7 separate regions of the Homo sapiens genome follow, and regions 2, 3, 4, 5, 6 and 7 are each linked to region 1. The links are contacts of gene promoters, found by promoter capture Hi-C in blood cells and fetal thymus (Javierre and others, 2016). All regions are on one chromosome and are shown on one strand. The core of a region is centred on a gene start or on the middle of the fragment in contact, and the rest is flanking DNA. Distances in the headings are between cores, read along the strand shown.

Region 1 (3,963 bases), core at 1-2,500:
ACTTTCCGCCCCAGCCACTCCCCAGTTCCTTTACCTGCTGCTTGTCCTCTAGGGAGGTAGAGACGACAGAGCAGTCTGATAGCAGGTTCTTGCGTACCACAGACCCCAAATCTGCAGCTGTGGACTCAAACATGGGAGAAACTACGACATCGTCATCGGACAGCAAGCCCGCTGGCGGAGAAAGGATCCCTTGCGACATGACGGCAGGGGCAGCCTAGGTCTAAAAAGAGACCAAAAAGTGGGCAGGGAGAAGAACCTTTAGGGACAGAAGGGGCCGCGAATTTTAGGTAATAAGTCCCTTGCCCCAGGACACCGTGTCCCGCTTCCTACTTCTTTTCCCCTCCAATTATCGGCAAAGGGGAAGGGAATGAGAGAAGTTCACTTAATGAACAATTGAGAGAAGTTTGAGGCGGCATTTCTGAACGCGAACAGAAGTCCACAGACATCTGGCTCCAAAAGCAGAAGGCTACGCCTAAAGTAGGGCACCTCGCCCGCCGGTGCTGTGGAGGTGGTGTCAGGATCCCTCGGCTCCTTCTCTAACCTCACCCCAAGGACCACCGTGAGAACAGAGATGCAGCATTAAGAGAAAAACAGATGGCTGCAGCTCCGATTTCTTAAAGCCTATTCCGCGCGGGCAAGAGCTGGTAACCCGGGCTCCAGCACAGCCGCACACTCACCCGAAGACGTGCCACTTGCTCCTCCTGGGATACTGGCTTACTCACACCTAGTCGCCGAAGCTGGACTTTCGCAGCCGCAGAGCACAACTCCGCCCACGAGGTGCAGCTTTGTTACAGATACAATATTTTAAATTACGCGCTGCGTTCGTTCGGCCAATCAGATAGGGAAGCCTGCAGCTACCAATCCGCGTAAGGAAAGGGGGCGGGCCTGACTGGAATTCCAGTCGTTCGCTTCTGCTTGACCTCTGAGTTCTAATGTGGGTCCGGGTTACCAACTGTCGTGGATTCGCACTTATTTTGCCTGGGATTCTTCCAACTTAACCTTTTTCCTTGAACCTTAGACATTTCTTACCTAAGAGCCTAAAGGAAATCTTGAGGCTTCAGCAGCCAACTCCTGTCCTTCCTTAGCAACAATCTTAACAGGAGTGCACAGGGTAACTGGTTTAGGGTGCTTGCTTTGTCTTAAGGGGAAAAACGACATTTCCCAGGAGGCACCGCGAACCAACGCCGGTACACTATTTCCCAGAATTCCAGGGTTTCGGCCCTTCCAGACCGTCTCTCCTCAGGGTTGGAGACTTCGGGGCCAAGATGGCGACGGGAACGGGCAGTGAGTATCTGAGCAGGTTTTGCGTGAAAGGCCTTTGTAGATCCGAGGCTAGGCACCATATTTTTGTTACACGCTTAGGGAGTGGGAGAAGTGGGTTGCTTGAGAGCCCAGGGTTTTCAGAGACCTGCGCTCTACAGCATCGTGAAGACCAACGTTTGGGGGCCCAGAAATCTGGGGTCTTGTTTCTCAGGGAGAGAGCGGAGGTGTGAGAGAAGCAGCTTAGTGAATCCTAGTGTGTTAGGAACTCTGCGGGTTAACCGTAAAAGCACTCTAGAAACTTGGGCGTGCAGACGAAAAGATGTTATGAGCCAGACGGAGTAACCGGCACCTCAAAGAGCCATTCATTTTTTTGTCTGACGTTTGTGAGGCAGTGGAAGTGGGGTCTTTTAACCATGAGCTTTTCTTGCCACTCAGGAAATTGCATCTCGGGGATTTCAGCCATTTTTCTTTTTTTGGACTGAAAAGCTCTTTTACCCCCGACATTTGGAGTAGAGGATCTGAGAGAAGTAAACAAGTTTATGCTAAGAGGGAGGCGGGGTAGTAGGAGGGGCTGGCCGCTCGGGTTCCTGGGAAATAAGCCCTGAATAAGTTCAAACTGGAATAAAGTCCAGTATTCTTAAAACTGGGCTTTTAGGGAGAACTGCCTAATCTGACATTCCCTGTTTCTTAATAAAGCGGAGCTTCAAGCCATGGCGTTTTAAGAAATAAAATGTTAATAATTCACATGCAACGAATAGGTACCCCGGTCACTGGTGATATTTCACTTGGAGAGGTGAAAATCAAGATTTGGTTATAGTAGCTCACTTTGTCCTAACAAGTTGGGATGTTTTGTATTAGGCTTTTAGTCCTCTTTTTGGGGATTTTGGAGCTTAGCACTACAGTCTCAGTGGTTGTTTCCAAGGCTTTTTTTTTTTTCTCCCTTTCCCAGAACACAAGCTGCTAAGCACTGGCCCCACAGAGCCATGGTCCATCCGAGAGAAGCTATGTTTAGCATCTTCTGTCATGAGAAGTGGCGATCAAAATTGGTAAGGTATCTAGGATGTCAGCTTTTCTGGGTCTTAGAAATTGTTAGATACTCTTTCACATCGGTAGATTTCTATAGTTAATCATATTAAGCTGTAAGTAGACTTTCTTTTCTTTTTCTTCTTTTTTTGAGACTGAGTCTCCTTCTGTTGCCCAGGCTGGAGTGCAGTGGTGCGGACACGCCCAGCTAATTTTTGTATTTTTTAGTAGAGACAGAGTTTCGCCATGTTGGCCAGGCTGGTCTCGAACTCCTGACCTCAGGTGATCCCCCCACCTCGGCCTGCCAGAGTGCTGGGATTACAGGTGTGAGCCACTGCGCCTGGCCATGCCTGGCTAATTTTGTATTTTTAGTAGAGACGGGGTTTCACCATGTTGGCCACGATGGTCTCAATCTCCTGACCTCATGATCTGTCCGCCTCGGCCTCCCAAAGTGCTGGGATTACAGGCGTGAGCCACTGCCAGGCCTATTTTTTTTTTTTTTTTTTTGAGACAAGATTGCACTCTGTGGCCCAGGCTGGAGGGCAGTGGTGTGATCTTGGCTCACTGCAACCTCCATATCTCAGGCTCAAATGATCCTCCACCTCAGCCTCTTGAGTAGCTGGGACTACAGGTGCACACCACCATGCCCAGCTAATTTTTTTTATTTTTTTGTAGAGATGGGGGTTTCATCATGTTTCCTAGGCTGGTCTCGAACTCCTGCGTTCGAGCGATCCGCCCAACCTACTGGGATTACAGGTGTGAGCCACCAGGCCAGCTGTATTTCTTTTTTTAAACAGCTTTATTGAGATATAATTCACATACTATAAAATTAACCTACTTAAAATGTACAATATAATGGTTTTTAGTATATTCACAGTTGTGCAACCATCACCACAATCTAATTTTAGAACATTTTATTCTAAGAAAAACCCCTTACTCCTTAACTGTCAGTCCATGTTGTCCCCTCCTCACCACCCCCAAGCAAGCACTCATCTACTTTCTATTAATTAATTAATTAATTTGAGACAGAGTCTCACTGTCACACAGGCTGGAGTGTAGTAGTTAGATCTTGGCTCACTGCAACCTCCGCCTCCCAGGTTCAAGCGATTATCGTGCCTTAGCCTCCCAAGTAGCTGGGATTACAGCCATGCGCCACGAGTGGCCTGGCTAATTTTTGTATTTTTAGTAGAGATGAGGTTTTGTCCAGGCTGGTCTTGAAGTAATGCACCAGTCCTGGCCTCCAAAAGTGCTGGGATTACAAGTGTGAGCCACCATACCCAGCCAACTCTCTTGTCTCTGTAGATTTGCCTATTCTGGATATTTCATACAAATGGAATGATACGTGCTCTTCTGGACTTTTTTTTGTTTTTTTTAATCACTTGACATAACACTTTTTAAGGTTCATTCTTATGTAGCATGTATCAATACTTAATTCCTTTTTTAGCTGAATAATAATCTGTTGTATGAATATACCAAGTTTTATTTATCCATCACTTGATAGACAATTGGGTTGTTTCCACTTTTTGGCCATTATGAATAATGCTGATGATGTGCACATTCGTGTACAAGGTTGTGGACAATGTTTTTAATTCTCTTGAGTTTTTTATTCAAGGAGTGAAATTGCTGGGTTATGTAGTAACTTTATTATGTTTGACTTTTTTTTTTTTTTTTTTTTTT
Region 2 (3,963 bases), core at 456-2,955, 430 kb after region 1:
TTTTTTAACTTCTTGTCACTGTTCAATTCCTAAGGTCTAGTTCTTGCCAGTTTTTTTTTTTTTTTTCCTGATTGGCAGGGCTTTTAAAGAAGTAAGAAGAAAGGTTAAGATTATTAGGCTAGGTTATAGCTGCTCAGTAGTCATTTTGACAAAGGGTAGCGGATGGTTGGTACAAATAGTGTTATATCCTCTATGACAAACGGGGTGGATGTTTTTACACATTGAGGTAATACATAGTCAAATCCTTTGCTCTCAAATAGTTGTACACTTTCCATACATTTCTGTCTTATTTTTTAATTCTAGTGATACACAAATTACATGTGGGCTACTTCATTTGGTAATTTGGTCCAGCTTTTTGGTGGCTGTAGAGTGGCCTCTAGGATACAGAAAATGATTCTCTGAAATTTTTCGTTGTAATTGTTAAATACTACTCTGCTTGACTTACTCAGTTTTGGTGGGAAGATCTGGGTCAATTGGAATAGTACACCTTTCTCAGGGTTTTCAGTTTAATAAGGTTGTCATATTATTCCCAACATGGGAATATAGTGGCTTCTAAAGTTTGCAAATGAATTATGTAAAAGGATTTTCTGTGTATTAGGAAGGCAACCTGTTCTGTTCATGGTATATTAACACTTCATTGTCATGTGTCTACCCTTAAAATTGCTATTTGTAGTGAAGAAAAAAGCATAGTGGTATTTAGTCACTTCTGGGTTCCTCTTGTCAGTTTATATGCAAACATTTTGGCATGTGGGACTTGGGGAGGAGGGACAATTGGTTGTATGTTTTGACCACTTCCACCTATGAAAATTATCTGAACATTATTCAGATTTAAGAGTTCATGGGAGCAGGTGGTACAGAACCTAGTGTTGAATATAATTTTTGTGCCATGCTTGAATGTATTTTGACGGATTAGCAAAATAAAAGTGAACCTCCTATTTTTCATCTTAATGTGAAGATCTTTGGCATTTACATTCTTTTAAAAGTATAAATTCAGTAGTCATTAGTTGAAAGTGGTTTGAAAGGCTGTTAGAGATGATACAGGTTGAGTATTCCTTATCTGAAATTCTTGGGCCCAGAAGTGTTTTGAGTTTTAGATTTTTTTCAATTTTTGAATATTTCCATTATGTTTACCAGCTGAGCAGCTCTCATACAAAAATGTAAAATCCAAACTGCTTCAATGAGCATTTCCTTTGAATGTCATGTCTGCACTCAAAAAATTTCGGATTTTGGAGCATTTTAGATTTTTTGATTGGAATATCTGTAGTGTTTTTCAGGTCATTTAAAAAGCTCTCATTGGTACTGATTTACTGTATCCAAAAAAAAGCCTGCAAGTGGTTAAGGTTCACAGTGATAACTATCAAATCAGAATGACTATACTGATTGTACCCATTCATCCATTTTTAACTTAGTGATTTGGAACGTTTCATATTCAAATCTAATTTTCATAATTTTTAAGTAAACCTAAAAGATTGAGGATACTTGAGAAATTTGCATTTATGATTTCCTTCAAAACCAGAAGTGATGGTATCAGTTATTGGATTTGTAAACTTAGTTTACCTTTTAAGTGTGCTTAAGTTTTGAGAGTTTGCATTTTAGGTTAAATTTTGTCTGCCCGCGTCTGCTGATTGCAGATAGGCATTTGGATGTTGGATTTGGAGCAGAACTGCATCTAGACTACACGGATTTTACCCAAAAAGACAGCACTTGCACTTAGGCTAAGTGTCTTTCTCCATCGTAACCAATTTATTGAATCACTTTAAGAGTGATCATTGGGGAAATTTTCCTCCTCAGCCTTATTTTGGCCTTTTGAAACAGCAACAAAGACTGCCTAGTCAAATAACTCCTTAGCTGTCCTGCTTTTGAGTGAACTTCATATTTGCCTTGAATGAGAATTTAAATGTTACAAGGTAAAACATTTATTATAAAAAGATATTTGAAAGCTGCTATTTAAAAAGGAATTCCAAAGTAGGAAGACTAGAAGGGCAATTCTCTATTTTCCACCTATTTTTTTTACTTTGATTTGAAGCCAGATGATTTGAACCTTCAGAGAGGGAAAGGATTCAGGAAGACACCTTTGGTAGTTATTCTTAACTGTTTCCTTCTCTATTCAGGCAGGCTTTCTTTGTCTCTTTAATTCTTTTACCACTTTGTATGGTTTACTTAAAAAATCTATCTGAAATAGCTATCATTTCCTGCTATAAAGTTCTCAAGTGTAAACTTTTGCCATTTAAACAGTGTGCTTATTTCCCAGTGTTTACCGTCAATTTCATTGGGTGTTAGGCACCTTTGTGTAAGACAGTTCTATAATGTGGAGGTACACAGCAGTGAGACAAACATGGTTGCTGTCTTCATATACCTTGCGTTCTGGTTGGAATTCAATTTATTTTGAAATGGGAATTCAATTTATTTTGAGATGATGCATCTTTTCCTTTACAGCATTGTGTCACAATCTCATATTGTTCACACCATCAAAATTGGAGTTAGCTCCATTGTCATTGAATGTACATTCTCTGATGAAAATTAAGACTCTTTTCTCCTTAATTGATTACTTTTTAGAAATCAAAGGTGTATTTTGTCTTTGATGCTTACGTTGCAAATGTAATTTGCTTCATAGTGGGTATCTGATTTAATATTTCATAGCCCTTAAGGACGTAAATTTGGGCATCCAATAGACCAAATTCTGTTCCTGACACAGTCACTTTCTAGCACTGCGACCTTGGACAAACTGGCCCGAGCCTCACTTGCCTTATTTGTAAAAAAATAGGCTATGGTAATACCTGCTACATAGGATTGTTGGGCAGATTCAGTGAAAGAATGCATATAAAGAAGGGCTTACTGTAGTCTCTGGTACACAGTAATTTTACTATATGGCCCCTAATGAAGAGGTGGGACAGACTAGCAAAAGGCATACTTTTATATCTTAGTACCCGAGATATGCATGGTCTTTAGGCTTTGCTCTTTACTTGCTGGGTGAGCTTCCATGTGGTAGTTCTCTAAATCACTGCTGCTTCAACTCTAGTAGGAGAGAGATGAATTCTGCTAGCCATCTGTAATGTTTTAAGTATTTGTTAATATTAGGAAGGTATAAATAATGTGAGTGTTGAGGAGAGGTGACTTCAGGTAGGAAGAAGGATCAAGAGAGGCATTGTGGAGCATATAACATTTAACCTTAAAAGATAGGTCTTATAGAGAAGGTGGGAGGAGAAAGAGGGCATTTTAGGTGGAGGACAGATAGGCAGAAACATGGAGCGTATTTGGAGAAGTATGCATATTGGATGCCAAACACTAGGTACATTTACAAATGTTCTCATTGCATCATTCAGTAACCTTCACAGATAAGGTTGCTAAATCTCATGCCAGAAAAGTAACTCCCAAGGACCCCCAGCTGGTGACATGGTAGAACTGAGAGTTGAATCCAAGTTTGACCAATTCTAGTTGTTTCGCTCCTTCTACTAAGCTTCATTGACTTCCAGCTAACAAATGTCTAATTTGTACTAAGATAAAAGAGAGTTGTGAGAAATAAATTGAGAAAATGAAGTTGGAACCAGGTTACTGAGGTCTTTGAGTAGTAGGCTAAGGAGTTTGGACTTAGGGTAGGCAGTAAAAGTCATTAAAGGTTTTTGAGCAACAATAATGGTAGTGAAACTAATTCACAAAGATTAGTCCAGTAGCACTGAGTAACATAAATGGCAGTGGGGGATGTTTCAAAGTGGCAAGTTTGCTAAGACAACTGATGTTAACCAGGTAAGAGAATGAGAGCATGAACAAAGAGCAATGGAAATAGACTGACAAAGAAGTTGAGGTAAGTTGTGAAAGCATAATTGACAAATATTTGGATATATGAAGAATGAGGAAGAGAGAGTAGATTAATCAAAATTACTGTGTGAGAGGATGGTGATGCCACTGGTAATAGGAAGAGAAGATTTAGAGGGAAGATTTGGACATAGTTGAAGATGCTGGTAG
Region 3 (3,963 bases), core at 614-3,113, 410 kb before region 1:
TATGGAACAAGAAGAAAATAACCCCCAAAACTCCAGGGGTTTTTTTCCGAAAAATGTGCCTCAAGATTTATTGAAACGTCTGAATCTCATTTTCAGCACATTAAAGATCTGGATTGCAAATGTACAGGTTATGTATTTTGTGATGTGTTTCTGATAGAATTCAGGGATCAGGGAAGGAAAGATATTATTACTGATAGATTCTTTGAGGGTGAAGGGAGGGTCTTAGGAAACTGACTTCAACTTAAAAAAGAAAGGTAATTTGGTTTTAATCTTCAAAAAAAGTGCAGTTCATTTTGAAAAAAAATCACTGAGACTCACATTTTTGTGTTTAACAACAACCTTGAAATTGGTCTGCCTCAGAGGACAGCATGATTCTGGGCTACCTTAGCATGAATGATTTATGACATTCATGAACTTGGCAACTACATCAGTTTTTCTAAACCTGGCACCCAACACCACCTGCATGTTAAGTGAAGATTTATGATTTATAAAACTCACCTCATTATGCAGAGGTACATGAATTGTCTTATATCTGTAATCTATAACTCCCAAGACAGATAAGAAGGCAGCTATGTCACAGAATTTATGGCTCCTACCCACTAAAGCTGAAGTTTTAGAGAAAAACTGCAGAAATAACTGGCCCTTTGGAGAAAAATAGCTTTAGCTAACCATTACACCCCCAAATGATGAAATGGCTATAACCCACCATTATATCTTACATGAACAAAGAGGCTAACGGCAAAAGTCACTTTAATCACAGCACTGAACTATGTCCCCCTTTTGAATGCTGCGGTAATACACAGAACCTAAGTGACTTCTTGGAAATATCAAGCACTCTGTCAGTTTAATTTTTTCCCCAGTTTGGTGTCTGAGACCTCTTGCTGAGATTTCTCATCAAGTGGCCCAGCCAGACCCACAGACACGGACTTCAGGGAAGACAATTCAATACCTGGTTGTGTCTAATGGCTTCCTGCATATACCCCTAAAGTGAAGAAGATCACATGTTGATTTGAATTCTGAAAAGCAGCTTGTTCTCAGAGATATTTTAGAAATGCAGCCTCTCTCTCCCTATACCCTGAAAAAATAAAAAATAAATAAAAACTTGGAAGAACAGAGCATTCAGTGGAATAAACTTATGTAGCTTATGGAATAAGATTATATAGCTAGCCATTAAAAATGACAAGTATATGGGACCAGGTTGACATGCAGAAATCTTTAGACAATAGTAAACAAAATAAGCAGAACACAAAATGATAGAAAAAAATGATGTTTCAGTCCTAGAGATTTTCAATGGTATAAAGCTAAATGAAAAACAATAAAACCCTAAATAATCTATTTTCAAATTTCCCTACCAATAAGGAAATAGATATATACACATGGCTGCTGACTGCCCTGAATCTGAGAAGCACCCCACGCCTCCCTCCTCTGCAGAGCTCTCCAAAGAACATTCTACTCTCTCTGGCCTTTGAGTACTCTCAAAGAACACCAGCACTCAGATACCTAGGTCCACCGAAGAAAGCTGAAAATGTAAATGTCTTTACGTAGCAGGAGGAAAAGTACTCGAAAAAAAGAAGGTAGGAAACCCCCTTCCGTATTTGATAACTAAATAAACCTTTTAGGGAGATTGCTCTTTGCTATTTACTTAGTAACTTGATTTCTGAAATGTGTCTGGGATTCTCCCAGTTCTGACTTTGAGCTCTAGTGCCAGTGTGGTCACTCTAACTCGTGAAAATGATACTCCACTCACAAAATGGTGTCCTAGAACAAGAGGACAATATCAATGAACCACAGATTACACACCAGAAAAAGTGAAACGTCTTTGGCAACTGGGACTATACTCGAGAGCAGATAGATGCACAGACAGACCCCAGGGAAGAATTGTATTTGGGTTCAGGGACTCAGTTACCACTCCTCCTTAAGCGGCCTGTTGACACTTTACCACTCAAACACAGATGCTGTTCTCCAGGGCTCTGGGTGCTGATGTTCTGTTGGCTGCCTTTAATCCTGAAAGTGACTTCCCCAGTTCAGGCCAGGGATTCATGCTGTAATGGAATGAGAGAGAAGTGGGCCAGTACCATACACATGTACACCAATGCACACACCCAACACAACCTAGGACAGAGCAGACTTCCTTTGGGAAGCCATGCAAAGTTGCAGAGCACAGGCAGGATGGCCTCATTCACGGCTTCTACCCATTGGCACGCTTAGAAACAGTTTATTCTGGCAGGGTGCAGTGGCTCATGCCTGTAATCCCAGCACTTTGGGAGGCCAAGACGGGTGAATCACCTGAGCTCAGGAGTTAGAGACCAGACTGGCCAACATGGTGAAACCCCGTCTCTACTAAAAACACAAAAATTAGCTGGGCATGGTGACGCATGCCTGTAGTCCCAGCTACTTGGGAGGCTGAGGCACAAGAATTGTTTGAGCCTGGAAGGTGGAGGATGCAGTGAGTCTTGGTCGTGCCACTGTACTCCAGCCTGGGCAACAGAGCAAGACTTTGTCTCAAAAAAAAAAAAAAAAAGAAAAGAAACAGTTCATTTTTTTATGGAAGAGAGGTGTTCATGAGACCCTTATGCAAGCAGATCCCCTTTTCCCTTGAAGAACTCGTCAAAGCGATCCTTCCAGGTAAACTGGCTTGCTTCAGGTCATGGCACACACACACACAAGCCCTCTCACCCAACCCCTCAACCACTAGTTGAATAAAACAAGCAATTGGCACTTAAACTAAAGGCTGGGCCTGTAAGGTAAACCAGTGACCCATGTGACACCTTGGCACTTTTCTGGGCCTTTACTCTGCCCGACAAGGCTTTCCATATGGGATGATGTAATCAAGCCACACAGAGGAAGGCAGCAAGGGTGGTACAAGCAGCCCCAGGGATACTTTGGGGTACAGGAAAGAAGTATTTAAATCTATTTCTATTTTATCTCTTTCATTTTTGTTTTCTATTTTTATGTATTTGTAATAATAGTACTATATACACATATGTAGTTTATAAATACATGAACATACACATAATGGGAGGATGTGCGCCAATATTTTTCTAATAGGGACATGTAATGAAAAAATTTGGAGACAAGAAGACACCACAGAGTTTGGGCTATTTCTAAAAAGACGTGGTCCTTAATCTCCACCCCACCGACAGAATCCCCCTCTATTAAACATGCAGATTCCACGACCCATCTCAGACCTGAATGTCCAGAGGTGGGATACCAGTGCTCTGCATGCTTAAAGAACCACCTAGTAATTCTGACTGCTACTGAAGTTTGGGTACCATTGCAGCACAAGAATTAGAGAAGCTAACATAAAAAGGCTGAGCTAGAAAAAGGCAGAGTCAGTGCAGATGAGAACACCAGAAATCCATTTCTAAGAAGAAAACAGGTAACTGGCCGCTACAGCTCCTGATGGAGCCTGACTAAGAAGTCCCTGTTCTTCCAGCATTCTGGCTGTATGGGTATTGAGACAATGGCTTTACTTTCCCAACTAGTCTTCCATTAAACTCTCATCTCCTAAGGAAACCTGGGTATTTCCTCTCTTGACAGTTGAGGAACAGGAATGGGGAAACTGAGAAACTGTCTTGGTCAGCTCAGGCTGCTACAACAAAATATTGTAGACTGGATGGCTTAAACAATAGACAGTTCTTCCTTACACTTCCCGAGGCTGAAAGTCTGAGATGAGGGTGCCAGCATGGTGGGTTCTGGTGTGGGCTCTCTTCATGGGGAAGGGGAGATCATCTTTCCTGTTTCCTCTTGTAAAGGCACTAATTCCGGCTGGGCGCAGTGGCTCACGCCTGTAATCCCAGCACTTTGGGAGGCTGAGGCGGGTGGATCACGAGGTCAGGAGATAGAGACCATCCTGGCTAACATGGTGAAACCCCGTCTCTACTAAAAATACAAAAAATTAGCCGGGCGTGGTGGCAGGCACCTGTAGTCCCAGTTACTCGGGAGGCTGAGGCAGGAAAATGG
Region 4 (3,963 bases), core at 379-2,878, 390 kb before region 1:
GGCAAAACTGTGTTATACTTCATGCTTTCCCTGCAGATTGAATTAATCTTCAAATCTCACTAATGGTGGCTGGCTTGTTTCTTTTTTTCCAGTAGGGGGTAATGTTCTATATTGAAAGCCACAAGACTACACATTAAGCTTTTGTCCCTGTTAGGTATAAATTAGAACTTCCTATTTGAAGTGGCTGTTGTAAGTCTAAAGGTCATTGTAGTTTAGTGAACCTTCACTAAAATGTTGAAAGAGTGATCTTAGGGGTTTCTGTTTTTTGGGGTTTTTTTGTTGTTGTTTTTTGAGACAGAGTTTCACTCTTGTTGCCCAGGCTGGAGTGCAGTGGCACAATCTCGGCTCACCAAAGCCTCCGCCTCCCGGGTTCAAGCGATTATCCTGCCCTCTCCCTCCCCCCCAACGTAGCTGGGATTACAGGCATGCGCCATCATGCCTAGCCACTTTTGTGTTTTTAGTAAAGAGATGGGGGTTTCTTCATGTTGGTCAGGCTGGTCTCCAACTCCCGACAAATCAGGTGATTCATCCGCCTCAGCCTCTCAGAGTGCTGGGATTACAGGCATGAGCCACCGTGCCTGGCCGGCCGATCTTGGGTTTGTTTGTTTGTTTTGAGACAAGAGTCTCGCTCTGTCGCCCAAGCTAGAGTGCAGTGGTGCGATCTTGTCTCACTGCAACCTCCGCCTCCCAGGTTCAAACAATTCTCCCGCCTCAGCCTCCTGAGTAGCTGAAATGACAGGCATGCGCCACCATGCCTGAATAATTTTGTATTTTTAGTAGAGATGGGGTTTCTCCATATTGGTTAGGCTGGTCTCAAAACTCTCAACCTTAGGTGATCTGCCCGCCTCAGCCTCCCAAAGTGCTGGGATTACGAGTGTGAGCCACCGTGCCCGGCCTGATCTTGGGTTTTTAACCAGTGTATTTACTTGGAGTGTTTCCTGCAAGGACATATTAGGTCACTTACCAAAAGACTGAAGAATGTTGTCTGTGGCTGCAAAAGGATGACACAGGTTGTTGGGCTATATTAATAATTCTGTTCTGACAGAATTCCATGATTGAATTTCATTCTTTTCCAGAAAATTACTTGGGGCACACAGCAAAAAATGCTGTGATCACAGTCCCAGCTTATTTCAATGACTCGCAGAGACAGGTGAGGTCAATTAGCATTCTTATTCACAAAAAGTAAGGTGCCTGGGATGGAAGGGTACAAAAATGTTTTTCTCTTTGTTTTCTCTAGGCCACTAAAGATGCTGGCCAGATATCTGGACTGAATGTGCTTCGGGTGATTAATGAGCCCACAGCTGCTGCTCTTGCCTATGGTCTAGACAAATCAGAAGACAAAGTGTAAGTTTGTGCAGTAAATTTCTCACCTGGATGTGTGAAACTAAAGTGTCACTTAATTTTTTAGTAATTGAGCCTTTTACAGTGCTTTTACTGATTTTAAGTCTGTATTGTCTTTGTTTTTTCATTTCAAAACCATTCTTTTCTTTTCTTTTGGGCCATGGTAATTTAACTAGTACATATCTCAGGGAAATAGCTTAGATTATCTGTATTTGGTTATTGAAATTTATATCCTGGTGATAGGTTTTGTTCTTAAGGATTTCTTTTCTTTTTTTTTTCACAAATCATTTACAGCATTGCTGTATATGATTTAGGTGGTGGAACTTTTGATATTTCTATCCTGGAAATTCAGAAAGGAGTATTTGAGGTGAAATCCACAAATGGGGATACCTTCTTAGGTGGGGAAGACTTTGACCAGGCCTTGCTACGGCACATTGTGAAGGAGTTCAAGAGAGAGGTGAGTTACCAATGTGGTTAATATGTAGACGTTGGGATATTGAGAAATTCTTTGTTCAGATTGCTCTTTGCTTTGTTTACGAGTTCAGTTCAACCCCCTTATTCTAGACACAGATACTCTTTTCAGAATATTTTTTTTCCCTACACATTAAGGGTAATAAAAAGTAATTCATGCTTATATATAAAGGTATGACTCCATTTTGTGTTGTTCCACCTTATTACTGCAGTTTATTTATCACCTCACTAATGCTGGTGTTTGGTGTTCAATGTCTTCACTTTATAGACAGGGGTTGATTTGACTAAAGACAACATGGCACTTCAGAGGGTACGGGAAGCTGCTGAAAAGGCTAAATGTGAACTCTCCTCATCTGTGCAGGTGAGACACGGAAAATTCGAGCAGTCTTGATGGATATTTTCAGCCGGAGCTTATTTAAAATAAATAGTATTTTCTAATTGGCCTAATGTCAGTTGAGTTTTTTTTGTTTGTTTGTTTTTTCAGTTTTCTGGTTTCTAGAGACCTTTGCCATGAGCACAGGGACAGTAAGGTCTTTAGTTTCTTTATGAGCTGAAATTTTTTTAGCCACTCAAATCAGTTACATATACTGGAGCTAAATAATGTGTGAATGATGTGCTGGGTGTACTTGTTTGCCTTTCAGTTAAAGACATTTATTTTAAAACCTGCTCTGGCAGTGTTTAAAACTAGAATTACTAGCTTGGAAAAACTGCTGTCTTAACTGACAATATTAAATAACCTCTCTCCTTGTGAATTGGAGAGTCTCTGAGTGTCTTTTTTTTTTTTTTTTTTTTTTTTTTGAGACAGAGTTTTGCTCCTGTTGCCCAGGCTACAGTGCAATGGCGTGATCTTGGCTCACCGCAACCTCTGCCTCCTGGGTTCAAGTGATTTCTCCTGCCTCGACCTCCCAAGTAGCTGGGATTACAGGTGTGCACCACCATGCCTGGCTAATTTTTGTATTTATAGTACAGACAGGGTTCTGCCATGTTGGCCAGGTTGGTCCTTGGACTCCTGACCTCAGGTGATTGACCTGCCTCGGCCTCCCAAAGTGCTGGGATAATGGGCGTGAGCCACTGAGCCCGGCTAATTGTCTCTCACTTAATAATTTGAAAAATTAGCTGGTCATAGTCTATACAACTGTGGTCCCAGCCACTCCAGAGGCTAAGAGGATTGTTTGAGCCCAGGAGGTTGAGGCTGCAGTGAGCCGTGATCACACCATTTCACTCCAGCCTGGGTGACAAATGAGACCCTGTGTCAAAAAATGACAATAATTTGAATCACCAGTCTAGAAAAAGAGCTGAAGCTTGTGCAAGTTTCCGTCTGTGAGCATCAGATTTACACAGCCTCTTTGTCAGTTTGGTTAGCTCCAGTTCTGAGAGGTGAAACTTGTCTTCACCACCAAGAATAGAATTATATAAACCATTTTAGATCTGTGTTAGAGACCCATGAAGATAGAAAGCAGCAGATCTATTTCCGGTGTCTTGGGTGACAGCAGGAAAAGCAGAGCGGTGACACCTTTATTTTGATCACCCACAAGGGAAGAGGTATTTATGATGGTTGTCACTGTGGTTGCTGCTAATGAACCTTCCCCTCAAACCTGGATTTTTTTTTTTAAGTGGCTGTGAGGAGTGACATAGTTATACACACGCATCCATGGTCTTGCTGATGTTACTTTGCCCCTGCTATCATGGAGTGGCAGAACATTGCAACGTTGGTTAGGGTTGAGGTTGAAATACCTGGCACTGCCAGAAGATAATTCTTCCCAGGGATTTGACATTTGGGGTAGGGGATGCGAGGTGTTGGAAGAGATTGGTTGGTTTTAATTAGTGTGGCTGCATCCTATTGATAGACATTTTGATTGTTTTCCAGTGTTTATTATAGCAAGATGTATTGAGCATCCTTACACATTCAGTTTTGCATAGGTGATTTTAAATCTATAGAATAAATTCTTAGCGTTTATTACCCTCATGCAGATTATATTGTGGTTTGGAAAGATGGACATTAATTAGAACAGATTAGTAAACGTTAAACTAGAAGTGATACAAAGTAAAGGTTAAGGGTGGTTCTGCAAGCATTCTGCTGGGGTTCAAGTCCCCCTTGTATTGCTTATTAATTGGTGATCTTGGATGAATTAACATTACTGTTACTTATCT
Region 5 (3,963 bases), core at 669-3,168, 350 kb before region 1:
GAAAGCTAAAATGAACCTTTGTGAACTTTATTCTGAAAATGTTTGGACATCTGAGTTATTCTGTACCCTAGGGTGGAGGTTGCTGTAATGTCTCAGTAAGTTCCGGTCTTGGTATTTCTCCCATTTGGTAATAGCATCTGACTCTAAGGTCAATTGCATAAACTAATTTCAGGTAACTTTCCTAGTCCCTTTGAAGGGTAACAGAATCATCCCTCCTAATTTGATAGTCTAACTAAACCTTTTATAAAAGGCAGCCCCATCCACCTCCTAACATGCCTCATAGATGGTAGTAGCAGAGGGAGTGGGGTGGCATTAATGTGAGGATCAACAAAATTAAAATGACACTTCATAAGGGTTGGTTTTGTTTAGTGCTGGTTTTCTTAAGGTAAACGCCTAATATAGTATGATGGTTTGAACTTTTAGGTGCAGTGAAAGATGGGGACAGTTAGTCAATTTAAGGCACATTAGTTCCTCTCCAAGGACTGACAATTTGTTGTTGGTTTTTGTTTTGTTTTGTTTTTGAGGTGGAGTCTTGCTCTGTCTCCAGGCTGGAGTGCAGTGGTGCGATCTTGGCTCACCGCAACCACTGCCTCCCAGGTTTAAGCGATTCTTCTGCCTCAGACTCCCAAGTAACTGGTACTACAGGTGCGTGCCACCACATCCAGCTAAGTTTTGTATTTTTAGTAGAGACAGGGTTTCACCATGTTGGCCAGGATGGTCTCGATCTCTTGACCTCGTGATCCGCCTGCCTCGGCCTCTCAAAGTGCTGGGATTACAGGCGTGAGCCACTGTGCCCGGCCAGATTTTTTTATTGGTATTTTATTTGGTAGTTTAGAATAAATCTCTGGTGTTTGCTTAAAAAAGAGTATATAGAGATGATGGTAGGAATTGGCCATTTATTCATTTTTCAAATGTTTGAGCACCACTATGTGCTAAAATGATTTTTGCCCTCAGGATGCTTATATACACTTGGGCTGGGCCCGGTGGCTCACGCCTGTAATCCCAGCACTTTGGGAGGCTGAGGTGGATGGAGAGGTCAGGAGTTCGAGACCAGTCTGGCCAACATGGTGAAACCCTTTCCGTACTAAAAATGCAAAAATTAGCCAGGCGTGGTGGTCCGTGTCTGTAATCCCAGCTACTTGGGAGGCTGAGGCAAGAGAATTGCTTGAACCCGGGAGGCGGAGGTTGCAGTGAGTCGAAATGGCGCCACTGTACTCCAGCCTGGGTTACAGAGTGAGACTCCGTCTCAAAAAAAAAAAAAGAAGCTTATATACACTTACTGTAAACAATGTGTTTCATTGTTTGATACTTGGTGGAAGAGAAAAGAGAAGTTGAGTATCAGGTCCCTGTGAAGACTGGCCATAGGTTATATCAGAATACTGAACTCATGCCACACAAGTTTTAGAAAGGAATGAATTTCTATGGTTCTCCCTTATGATAAATTACAGAGTTTCCAGTGTTCTGGCCATATTATTTTTGGTATAGCTCTTTTGTTCTGTGGAAGATTTGGCAAGTCCTGTAATCCCGTAAAGGTGACCATCATCTGCTACAAAAAATCAGCTCATACTTCAGGACCTAACAGGATTCAAATAAGACTTCAACCCCATCTGATATTACCTCTCTCCCCTCCCCATTTCTAGTTGGGCTGTGCTACTTCTTTCCAACTGGTACTACTGGTGGAGGGGAGGCGATAGTCAAGAACTAGAGCTCCATCTCATTACCATTTAGTGATCAGTTACTATCTGCTCTCCAAGCTAGGCACTTGACATATATGATCTCGTAGAATCCTCATGATCTTGTGAAGTAAGTAGAAACAGACCCACAGGGATTTGTGTGGTTTGCCTTCGGTCACACGGCCATTAAGTGATAGAGCTGGACGTGAGCCTGAATCTGGGCTCCTCCTATTCTGTTCCCATATTAACCCCATATCAAAAAGACCATCTTAGTTTAAAAGTTTAAACTTAGTTTTGCAAATTTGGGAGAAGAAAAATGGAAAACACACAGTGAATAAAACAATGACAGTTTTGGAAATGGAGTAGAAATTGAAGAGGAACTGATTGATTTTCAGGTGGTGATCCATGTAATACTGCTGGCTTAGTGACTTTCCCAGAAATGATCTGGCTGAGATTTATTTATTTATTTATTTTATTTTATTTTTTTGAGGCGGAGTCTCGCTCTGTCGCCCAAGTTGGAGTGCAGTGGCTCGATCTCGGCTCACTGCAAGCTCCGCCTCCCGGTTCACACCATTCTCCTGCCTCAGCCTCCCAGGTAGCTGGGACTATAGGCGCCCGCCACCACGCCCGGCTAATTTTTTTGCATTTTTAGTAGAGATGGGGTTTCACCCTGTTAGCCAGGGTGATCTCAATCTCCTGACCTCGTGATCCGCCCACCTTGGCCTCCCAAAGTGCTGGGATTACAGGTGTGAACCACTGCACCTGGCCTCTGGCTGAGATTTAAATTGAGCTTTGTGAGGCAGGCACAGATGGGAGCTTGAAAAGGGAAGTGGTGAAAAATTTGGCCATCCATAGCCTAGGCACAACCCAGCCATCAAACCCTGGGATGAAAGCTTCTTGGGGAGCATGTACTGTACATCCCGGTTAGGGAGTATAGTAAGCAGTGTCTAAAACGTTCCTGGTCCTAACCTGAAAGTAGTTAACGTGATTTACAAGTGATGACTTGGATGGCAGAGTACTTGAGGGGGAGTGAGTGTTCGGGCTGGTAAAGTTGAGTATCTCTGAGCTGTCACAATTCATTATGGTTGTATTATAGCTAGGTTGTCTTAGGTTTTGGGGGTTTTTTGATTTTTGTTTTTGTGCTGCTATAACAGAATACCACAGATTGGTGTTCTGGTAAGGGCCTGCTCTCTGCTTTTAAGATGGCACCTTGAACGCTGCATCCTTTGTTGGGGAGGAACACTGTTCCTCTCATGGCAAGAGAACAAAAGAGAGATGGCCCACTACTTATAAGCACCTTATTTTATCTTTTTTGTGTGCGCGTGTGACTGTAGCTCTCAGGTCTTATAAGCACCTTATTTTAAATAGCAGCATGAATCTATTCATGAGGGCAGAGCCCTCATAACCTAAACACATTCCATATGCCCCACCTTTCAATACTATTGCAGTGGGGATTAAGTTTCCAACACATGAATTTGGGGGGACACCTTCAAACCATAGCATAGGGTAAATGCAGCAAGCAACTGCTCTGGGTTCTTCTTCTTTGGGTGGAGGTGAGGTTGTGGAGGCTTGTTACCTTCAGCAGACCTAGAGATGACCCTGTGAAGAAAGCAAGCCAGATGCAGTGATTCTCAACCCTAGTTCTGCATTAGAATCTTGCGTATTTGAGGCCGGGCACAGTCGCTCACACCTGTAATCCCAATTCTTTGGGAGGCCAAGGCAGACAGATCACTTGAGGTCAGGAGTTCGAGACCAGCCTGGCCAACATGGTGAAACCCTGCCTCTACTAAAAATAGCCAGGCATTGTGGCGCGTGCCTGTAACCCTAGCTACTTGGGAGGCTGAGGCAGGAGAATTGCTTGAACTGGGGAGGCAGAGGTTGCAAAGATCAGAGATGGCGCCACTGCACTCCAGCCTAGGAGACAAGAGTGAGACTCTGTCTCAAAGAAAAGAATCAGCTGGGTGCGGTGGCTAAAGCCTGTAATCCCAACACTTTGGGAGACTGAGGTGGGTGGATAATTTGAGATCAGGGGTTCGAGACCAGCCTGGCCAACATGGCAAAACCCCATCACTACTAAAAATACAACAATTAGCTGGGCGTGGTAGTGGGCGCCTGTATCCCAGCTACTTGGGAGGCTGAGGCAGAAGAATCACTTGAATCCAGCAGGCAGAAGCTGCAGTGAGCCGAGATCACACCACTGCACTGTAGCCTGGGTGGCAGAGCGAGACTCTGTCTCAGAGAAAAAAAAAATCTTTCATATTTCAAAATTGAGACTGTCTCAACCAAAATC
Region 6 (3,963 bases), core at 393-2,892, 310 kb before region 1:
GTGCAGTGGTACCATCTTCACTCACTGCAACCTCCGCCTCCCAGGTTCAAGTGATTTTTCTGCCTTAGCCTCCTGAGTAGCTGGGAATACAGGCACGTGCCACCACGCCAGGCTGGAGTGCAGTGGTGTGATCTCGGCTCACTGCAATCTCTGTCTCTGGGGTTCAAGTGATTCTCCTGCCTTAGCCAGCAGCTGGGACTACAGGTGCGCACCACCATGCTCGGCTAATTTTTTGTATTTTAGTAGAGACGGGGTTTCACCATGTTGGCCACGTTGGTCTTGAACTCCTGACCTCGTGATCCATCCACCTTGGCCTCCCAAAGTGCTGGGATTATAGGCGTGAGCCACCGTGCCTGGCCAAAATGCAAGAGAAACTCCCCAGAATGGGCGCCCATCTCCAGAGTTGGAGGCAAGCACACCAACCAACTGCACCACACAAATGGTCACTAATCTTTGTATTTTTAGTAGAGATGGGGTTTCACCATGTTGGCCAGGCTAGTCTCGAACTCCTGACCTCAAGTGATCCACCTGCCTTGGCCTCCCAAAGTGTTGGCATTACAGGCATGAGCCACCGGGCCCAGCCAAGCCCAGCAGTTTTAATCAGGGAGACCTCAGCCGGGCGCGGTGGCTCACGCCTGTAATCCTAGCATTTTGGGAGGCCGAGGCGGGTGGATCACGAGGTCAGGAGAACTAGACCATCCTGGCTAACATGGTGAAACCCCATCTCTACTAAAAATAAAAAAAATTAGCCGGGCGTGATGGCGAGTGCCTGTAGTCTCAGCTACTGGGGAGGCTGAGGCAGGAGAATGGCGTGAACCCGGGAGATGGAGCTTGCAGTGAGCCGAGATCGCGCCACTGCACTCCAGCCTGGGTGACAGAGCGAGACTCCATCTCAAAAAAACAAACAAACAAACAAACAAAAAAATCAGGGAGACCTCTCATCTATCACTGAAGGCCTTTAGCCAGCCTGGCTCCCATAGCTCACAGAGCTCCTCTGCATGGTGACAGGAGCATGACTCCAAGGCTGCCACCCACGCTGTGGGCCTGAGGGGGTGGGAAACACTTTAAATCCTGAGTCAGAGGAAAGGTTCCACTTCACTTGCCCTGGAACAGAAAGCCAAGGATGCTGCAGTCTGTATGGAGAAGAAGGGGAACTGGAAATTGAGAAAGAATAGTGCTTACTTCCTTCCCTACCATCTCTTATTTTTAAAACATTTTATTTATTTATTTTTTATTCCACCATATGTGATTCATGCTCATTGCAGAAAATACATGTGATGGAAATAAGCTTCATTAGTTTGAGTGTTTCTCCCTGTTTTCTCTCCTCTCACCCATCCACAAAAGGTTTCCAGCTCAGAATTCATGCCCACTCCCAACTCCAAGAGTCTGCTCTCAGCCATCCCCAGTCCGGCATCTTTTGTGATGCAGAATCAAAATGAGTGGGTGAGGGTGCTGGTTAGAGACAGGAGGAGATGGAGAGCTAGAGAGGCTGGGAGAAAGAAGGACTTAGGCAGAGAGGCTAAATCCATCTATATAATAAAGAACAAGGAAGGGGAAGAGAGAAGGGAAAGAGAGGGGGTAGAAAGGAAAGGTTAGGAGGAATTTTATAGAGTACAGTATTGCTCTGAGGCATTAAGTAGACACCCTGTAGTTTTCCAAGTCAAGATTGGATTTATTTTTGTTTTCTGTCTCCAGTATCATAATCCTTTTTTTTTTTTTTTTTTTTTTTTGAGACGGAGTTTCGCTCTTGTTGCCCAGGCTGGAGTGCAATAGCGCAATCTTGGCTCACCACAACCTCTGCCTCCTGGGTTCAAGCAATTCTCCTGCCTCAGCCTCCCGAGTAGCTGGCATTAACAGACATGCGCCACCACGTCTGGCTGATTTTGTATTTTTGATAGAGACAGGGTTTCTCCATGTTGGTCAGGCTGGTCTTGAACTTCCGACCTCAGGTGATCCTCCAACCTCGGCCTCCCAAAGTGCTAGGATTACAAGCTTGAGCCACCGCACCAGGCCAGGATCATAATTTTTTATTTGCAACTCCATGGAGAGCCTTGACCATGTAGACATTCAGAATTTCTTTTTTTTTTTTTTCTTTTTTTGAGACGGAATCTCGCTCTGTCGCCCAGGCCGGAGTGCAGTCACACGATCTCGGCTCACTGCAACCTCCGCCTCCCGGGTTCACGCCATTCTCCTGTCTCAGCTTCCCGAGTAGCTGGGACTACAGGCGTTCGCCACCATGCCCAGCTAATTTTTTGTATTTTTAGTAGAGATGGGTTTTCACCGTGTTAGCCAGGATGGTCTCGATCTCCTGACCTCGTGATCCGCCCGCCTCAGTCTCCCAAAGTGCTGGAATTACATGTGTCAGCCACTGCGCCCAGCTGACATTCAGAATGTCTTTGGGGTTCCATACAGGAAAGTACAAAATATTGTCATTTGACAAATGAAAGAAGAGACTTGAGTATTTATCGTGCTTTCTTTACAATTATGATTTAGTCTAGAAAAATTCTGGCTAACAAATGCAAACGGAATGATAGAATTATAAAATCACCCTTTGGCCAAGTACATTGACTCATGCCTGTAAACCCAGCACATTGGGAGGCCAAGGCGAGCAGATCACTTGAGGTCAGAAGTTCAAGACCAGCCTGGCCAACATGGTGAAACCCCATCTCTACCAAAAATACAAAAATTAGCCGGTTATCATGGCGTGCACCTGTAGTCCCAGCTACTCAGGAGGCTGAAGCAGGAGAATCGCTTGAACCTGGGAGGAGGAGGTTGCAGTGAGCCGAGATCACGTCATTGTGCTCAGTCTGGGTGACAAGAGCGAAACTCCATCTCAAAAAAATAGAAAAACAAAAAATAAATAAAATCACCCTTTTAACCCCTAATGAGATAATAGATTTAGATAAGGATCATTGATCATCGGAGATTTCTGTAACCATTGCATGAAAGGTATAGAGAAACTTTGTAATGCCAGTGATACTTGGACCCATCAATCAATCTGGGTTTTTTTCAGAGACAGGGTCTCCTATGTTGCTTAGGCTGGAGTGCAGTGGCTATTCACAGGTGCAATCATAGCTCACTATAGCCTCAAACTCCTGGGCTCAAAGGATCTTCCTGCCTTAGCCTCTTGATTAGCTGGGACTACAGGCACCTGGCTGATTAATTCATTTTAACATCACGCACACAAAAAGAGAACTAACCAAGAGAATTGAAAACATATGTTTGTACAGAAACCTGTACATAATGTTCACAGCAACAAGTATTATTCAAATAGCTAAAAAGTGGAAACAATTCAAATGTCCATCAACTGATGAATGGATAAATAAAATGTGGTGTGTCCATATAATGGAATATGATTCAGATATAAAGAGGAGTGAAGTACTGAGACATGCTACAAAATGGATGAACCTTGAAAACATTATGTTCAGCGAATGGAGCCAGACACAAAAGGCCATATATTATTTAATGCTATGTATATGAAATATCCAGAACAGGCAAACTGGTAGAGACAGAAAGTAGATTAGTAGTTGTCAGTGATTTGGGGGCAGGGGGTGGTAAGGAATGGAGAGTGTCTGCTAACAGGTACAGGGTTTATTTTGGGGATAATTGTAATGTTCTGGAATTAGTGGCAACGGATGTGCAACACTACAAATATACTAAAATTCATTGAATTGTACACTTTATTTTTATTTTTTTATTTTTTATTTTTGAGATGGAGTCTTACTCTGTCGCCCAGGCTGGAGTGCAGTGGCGCGGTCTCGGCTCACTGCAAGCTCTGCCTCCCAGGCTCACACCATTCTCCTGCCTCAGCCTCCCGAGTAGCTGGGACCACAGGCGCCCACCACCAAGCCCGGCTAATTTTTTGTATTTTTAGTAAGGACGGGGTTTCACCGTGTTAGCCAGGATGGTCTCGATCTCCTGACCTCGTGATCTGCCCGCCTAGGCCTCCCAAAGTGCTGGGAT
Region 7 (3,963 bases), core at 388-2,887, 260 kb before region 1:
CACTGCCACAGGGTGTCTTCCTTCTTGACCTCATGCCCATTCACACCCATCTGCCCTTACCCTCCACCTCCCTCAGAGCCAGGCTCTGCGAGGGAACCTGACACCACCTAACAGGGCACCCTACCTGGCAGGCAGAGGTACCACTGTGGCCCTGGGGCCCTAGGGAACAGAGGGCACAGGGGCAGGAGGCCCTGAGAGAGGCAAAGAGGCTTATTCCCCCATGTAAACACCACAGGGACAGGGCTCAGGGGAGGGCCCCGCTGGTGATCCAAGTACAGAATGCAGACAAGACACAGGCCGGGAAAGAAGAGGACCGATGCCCTTTGGGGCTTGCCCAGGCAAGAGAGAAGCAGCCACCCTGAAGGCCACATGGAGGCGTGAGGCCCCTCCATTCCCCCTGGGATGGGTGGGGGAAGAGAAGGAGTCTAGAGTAAACCAGGACAGAAGCACTTGGCCGGCCCGGCTGTACCGAATGGGAAGAAGGGAGCAGGGTGGGGCTGCCGGTGTCAGTCCCCAACGGTGGAGGCCGAGGGGCAGTGTCCTCATTAGGGCAGGGGATAGCTCCGAGAACCACGAGGAGCCCCTGTCAGGCTCAGCCCCTTGACAATGTGTGGCTGTCGCCTGTTTCCACATGGACAGGAGGGATACTTCCAAACCGGCTGGTGCAAGTGGAGTGCGGAGCAGAATCCTCAAGGACAAAGTCTGGGCTCGTGGGGAATGGTGTGTGTTCCCTCCTGGGGCCCGGGGAGGTGCCAGAGACACAGCTCCACAGTGTGGCTGGCAGCCTGGAATGAAGGCCACGGAGCGTCCTCCCCCAGCGGGGTCCACAATCCCAGGCTGAGCACACACATCCCCTCTCCCAGTTACCTCTCACACTTTGTCCTCCGAGCATTTCTGCTTCCCGATACCCAGACTTCCTCCCTAGGGGGCCTAAGGGCATATGCCCTCGTCCCCAGTCTCCTGACAGTGAGTGGAAGGGAGAGACCAAGGGGCCTGGTGATGGCTCTGAGCTGCGGAATGATGATGAGGCCCTGCCTTGCTCCACTCTCTTCCATCACCCTGTTACCTCCCCCAGAGGGACAGGGCCCGGGTCTGAGGATCTCCTCCAGCCCAGACCTGCTAGGTGGGGGAGGGGACGCGCCTGCCTCCCCTTTTAAATCAAGCCGTGCTGCTCAGCCTCTAGGATGGGCGCAGGAGCAAGGACGGTAGAAATAAAAGAGGTTATTAATAAAGAATGTGGGTGAGGTCCCTGGGAAGCCAGGCCTGCCACGCTCCCCTAATATTCCCCCCTCCAGTCCTGGGTGCCACATCTCCATGTCTCTGGGGGCCCCAAATAAGGACGCAGCGCCTTTAGGTGACTCTGCTGCACGAAGCTTCGGAGAAGTCCACCCGGGCTTTAACACCCCCGCCCTCCATCACAGCCCGCATCACCCCCCGCCGCCGCCGCACTCACACCACCAGGCGAGAGATGATCCAGGACACCATGGCGGGGCCGGGCGCGGCGCGGGGCGGGGACCCGGCCCGGCCGAGGATGCAGCTGCCTGAGGCCGAGCGGCGGCGGCGGCGGCAGCAGGAGCCGCAGTAGCAGCAGCAGCCGCTGCAGCAGCCGCCGCGGGGGCAGCGGAGCGCCCAGCGCCGCCGTTAAAGGGGAGGTCCCTGCCGCAGCGGCGGGCCGTGGGCGGTGGCGGCTCTTAAAGGGGAGGCCGGGAGGCCGCCGCGGCGGCGGCGGCGCGCCCCCGCCCCGGCACCTGCTGTGGCCGGGCATGCGCCTCCGACCCTCAGTGCCCTGCCTTCCTCGAATCGCTTGTTCATCTTTCTTGGGTTTCAAGCCCTAGGCTGTTGTCGTGGAGGTCTCCATGGTTACATCCTGAAATCGACCCCTGCCCACCTCCTGCCCTGCCCACACCAGGCGCTTACTGTGTGCCAGCCCCTGTGCTAAGAGCTTCACTGCGTTGCCAGTGAATCCTCTTGACCACCCTATAAGGCAGGCGCTATAAAAGCCCTCATTTTGAAGATAAGGGAATGAGAAGCTTAAGGCTCAATAATCTGTTGAGAGTCACAAAGCCACCAAGTCATGCTGCTAAGATGACCCCAGGAAGCCTACTTTAAACAGGTTACATCCCCCAACTGCTGACTAGCAAACTCTCCTCATTACAGGCCCTGAAGACATCCACCTGAGCTCCTGAGTCACAGGTACAGCCGCACCTGTCCACCCCACTCCTTCTCACCCCGTTGAAAGAGGATCTCCCCTGACCAGATGATGTTTTGTTTTTTTGAGACAGGTCCTCACTCTGTCGCTCAGGCTGGAGTGCAGTGGCACAATCTCAGCACACCTCCTGGGCTTGAATGATCCTCCCGCCTCAGCCTCCCGAGTAGCTGGGACTACAGGCCCAAAACACCACCAGCTAATTCCTGTTTTTTTGTTTTTTGTTTTTTTTTGCCAAGATGGGGTTTTGCAATATTGCCCAGGCTGATCTCCAACTCCTGAGCTCAAGCGATCCACCCGCCTCAGCCTCCCAAAGTGCTGGGATCACTGGTGTGAGCCACCGGGCTGCTGGTCTGCTTTTTTAGGTTGTCAGCTCCTAAGCTTTGCAGCGGAACAGAGCTTTATGCTCTCAATGTGGTTACTGACAACAAAGGGTCAACCTTCTTTTCAAACAGAGGGGCTGCGAGAGGGTCCTGGGGCTCCAGTTCCACCCCCATCAGCAAGCACTAGTGGCAGTGAATGTCCTGATTCTAAAGACATTTATATCCAGAATGTAGGCTAGCCTGCCTCCTGATCTTCAGGAAAGCAACCAACCTCCAACCATCCACCAACACCCCCAGCCCTATTGCTCTCCTTTCCTGTCCCATTTTAGAGCTTCTGCATTCCTCTACCCTTTATGTTGAGTTGTAATCCTTCGGGTGACCACAGCATCAACCTGTGCCCATCTGGGCTGAAAGGACACATTCAGAACTGTGTATTTCAAAGAGTCATGGTCTTATTCAAGCTCAGTATCCCTGAACAACACAATGGTCTATTTCTAACCTGGTAAATTATATTTCCAGGTTCAAACACTTTGGAAGATGTTTCCCAAAACGTTCCAGAAAAGCAGCCTCTGATAACCCCTCTTGCTATTCTTTACAACTTCCTCTCCAGAAAACATCTCCTAATTGGAATGCAGTCTGTTATCACCCCACAATGAAACACTTTAATTACTGCTTGATAAATCCCACATGAGTGTCTCCCACCATCTCTAAGGTGGATCTATGGCCACACGTTTCATGTAGGCAGCCAGGCTGCCTGCTTAAGAATCCCACCACAGACTGTCCAACTTTGCTGAGGCCACACACCATGACCCTTCCCCCCAGACTCTGCCACAGGAAGGGAGGACCCCAACTTTCCCACTCCATTCACAAAGCATAAAGTATGGGGAAACATGTCTCTCTTTCTACCCTCTAATTCATGTGGCCCCTTCCCCTTACCCCCAATTCCCCAAACCATACTGACCTCACCCTGGCACTTTCCTTTTTTCTAACATGGCACAGTCTCAACAAGCAAAGAAAAATATCTGGGTGTAGCACAGTCATGAAGACCTGGAAATGAATCCCCCACCTCCAACCCAACTCCCAATCTGATGTTGATTTTAGAAGGGTTGGTACACGAATAATTTAGTCCACTCCAAACAGATTTGTTAGATTTTTAATAAGAACATGGAAATCCCAATCAGCCCTTCAACAAAATTAAAATACAGAAAGTGAAATTAAAAGTATTCTACATTAAATGACTTTTATTTAAAAAAAAAAAAAAAAGTAACTGTGAACATATAAACAGCCTGCAGGGCACTACAGTACAGCTGGAGAGATATACATTTTCCAATGTACCTATGGGCCAATGAATCCCACCATTTTCAAATAAATCCTTAATCAGACTCCACTCAGTTGGAAAGTTTTGCTGAAAATATTTCTGGATAAAAAACAAAA

What was found. The method cuts DNA at HindIII sites, captures the fragments that hold promoters and counts their contacts. A CHiCAGO score of 5 or more calls a contact.
Region 2: a contact is called between a fragment that was not itself captured here and the fragment with the promoter of BRD8 in region 1, in 2 of 17 cell types (naive CD4 T cells and non-activated CD4 T cells). The highest score is 6.1, in naive CD4 T cells.
Region 3: a fragment that was not itself captured here is called in contact with the fragment with the promoter of BRD8 in region 1 in 1 of 17 cell types (neutrophils); the score reaches 6.9 in neutrophils.
Region 4: a fragment that was not itself captured here is called in contact with the fragment with the promoter of BRD8 in region 1 in 5 of 17 cell types (erythroblasts, neutrophils, M0 macrophages and 2 more); the score reaches 8.6 in erythroblasts.
Region 5: a contact is called between a fragment that was not itself captured here and the fragment with the promoter of BRD8 in region 1, in 8 of 17 cell types (erythroblasts, megakaryocytes, neutrophils and 5 more). The highest score is 11.5, in erythroblasts.
Region 6: a contact is called between a fragment that was not itself captured here and the fragment with the promoter of BRD8 in region 1, in 3 of 17 cell types (fetal thymus, endothelial precursors and erythroblasts). The highest score is 6.8, in fetal thymus.
Region 7: a contact is called between the fragment with the promoter of REEP2 here and the fragment with the promoter of BRD8 in region 1, in 15 of 17 cell types (megakaryocytes, erythroblasts, fetal thymus and 12 more). The highest score is 19.0, in megakaryocytes.

The regions. Positions count from the first base shown.
Region 1 is chr5:138,175,917-138,179,879 of GRCh38, reverse strand. BRD8 (bromodomain containing 8) reads left to right here and starts at 1,250. Exons shown (of 27, transcript NM_139199.2): 1 at 1,250-1,284; 2 at 2,213-2,309. The coding sequence starts at 1,266. It overlaps KIF20A (kinesin family member 20A), which reads right to left and starts at 768. Exons shown (of 19, transcript NM_005733.3): 1 at 678-768; 2 at 35-220. The coding sequence starts at 199. RefSeq lists enhancers at 939-1,108, 1,249-1,298, 1,006-1,300. The HindIII fragment of the contact is 9,650 bases long and covers 1-3,963 here.
Region 2 is chr5:137,747,418-137,751,380 of GRCh38, reverse strand. It overlaps HNRNPA0 (heterogeneous nuclear ribonucleoprotein A0), which reads left to right. Exons shown (of 1, transcript NM_006805.4): 1 at 1-3,963. Among named protein-coding and RNA genes, the nearest start is that of HNRNPA0, 5.0 kb to the left of the region's middle. The HindIII fragment of the contact is 3,508 bases long and covers 1-3,459 here.
Region 3 is chr5:138,581,907-138,585,869 of GRCh38, reverse strand. It overlaps LOC105379193 (a long non-coding RNA gene), which reads right to left. Exons shown (of 3, transcript XR_001742900.1): 2 at 1,940-2,042; 3 at 781-1,075. Among named protein-coding and RNA genes, the nearest start is that of HSPA9, 8.5 kb to the right of the region's middle. The HindIII fragment of the contact is 9,043 bases long and covers 1-3,963 here.
Region 4 is chr5:138,564,836-138,568,798 of GRCh38, reverse strand. It overlaps HSPA9 (heat shock protein family A (Hsp70) member 9), which reads left to right. Exons shown (of 17, transcript NM_004134.7): 6 at 1,077-1,150; 7 at 1,238-1,344; 8 at 1,636-1,798; 9 at 2,081-2,173. Among named protein-coding and RNA genes, the nearest start is that of SNORD63, 5.7 kb to the right of the region's middle. The HindIII fragment of the contact is 2,975 bases long and covers 141-3,115 here.
Region 5 is chr5:138,530,243-138,534,205 of GRCh38, reverse strand. All of the region lies in intron 2 of ETF1 (eukaryotic translation termination factor 1), which reads left to right. Among named protein-coding and RNA genes, the nearest start is that of ETF1, 11 kb to the left of the region's middle. The HindIII fragment of the contact is 1,301 bases long and covers 1,268-2,568 here.
Region 6 is chr5:138,484,316-138,488,278 of GRCh38, reverse strand. No RefSeq gene overlaps it. Among named protein-coding and RNA genes, the nearest start is that of EGR1, 21 kb to the right of the region's middle. The HindIII fragment of the contact is 704 bases long and covers 1,291-1,994 here.
Region 7 is chr5:138,436,731-138,440,693 of GRCh38, reverse strand. REEP2 (receptor accessory protein 2) reads right to left here and starts at 1,637. Exons shown (of 8, transcript NM_001271803.2): 1 at 1,454-1,637. The coding sequence starts at 1,485. KDM3B (lysine demethylase 3B) reads right to left here. Exons shown (of 24, transcript NM_016604.4): 24 at 3,667-3,963. RefSeq lists an enhancer at 471-1,004 and a silencer at 1,390-1,809. The HindIII fragment of the contact is 657 bases long and covers 1,376-2,032 here.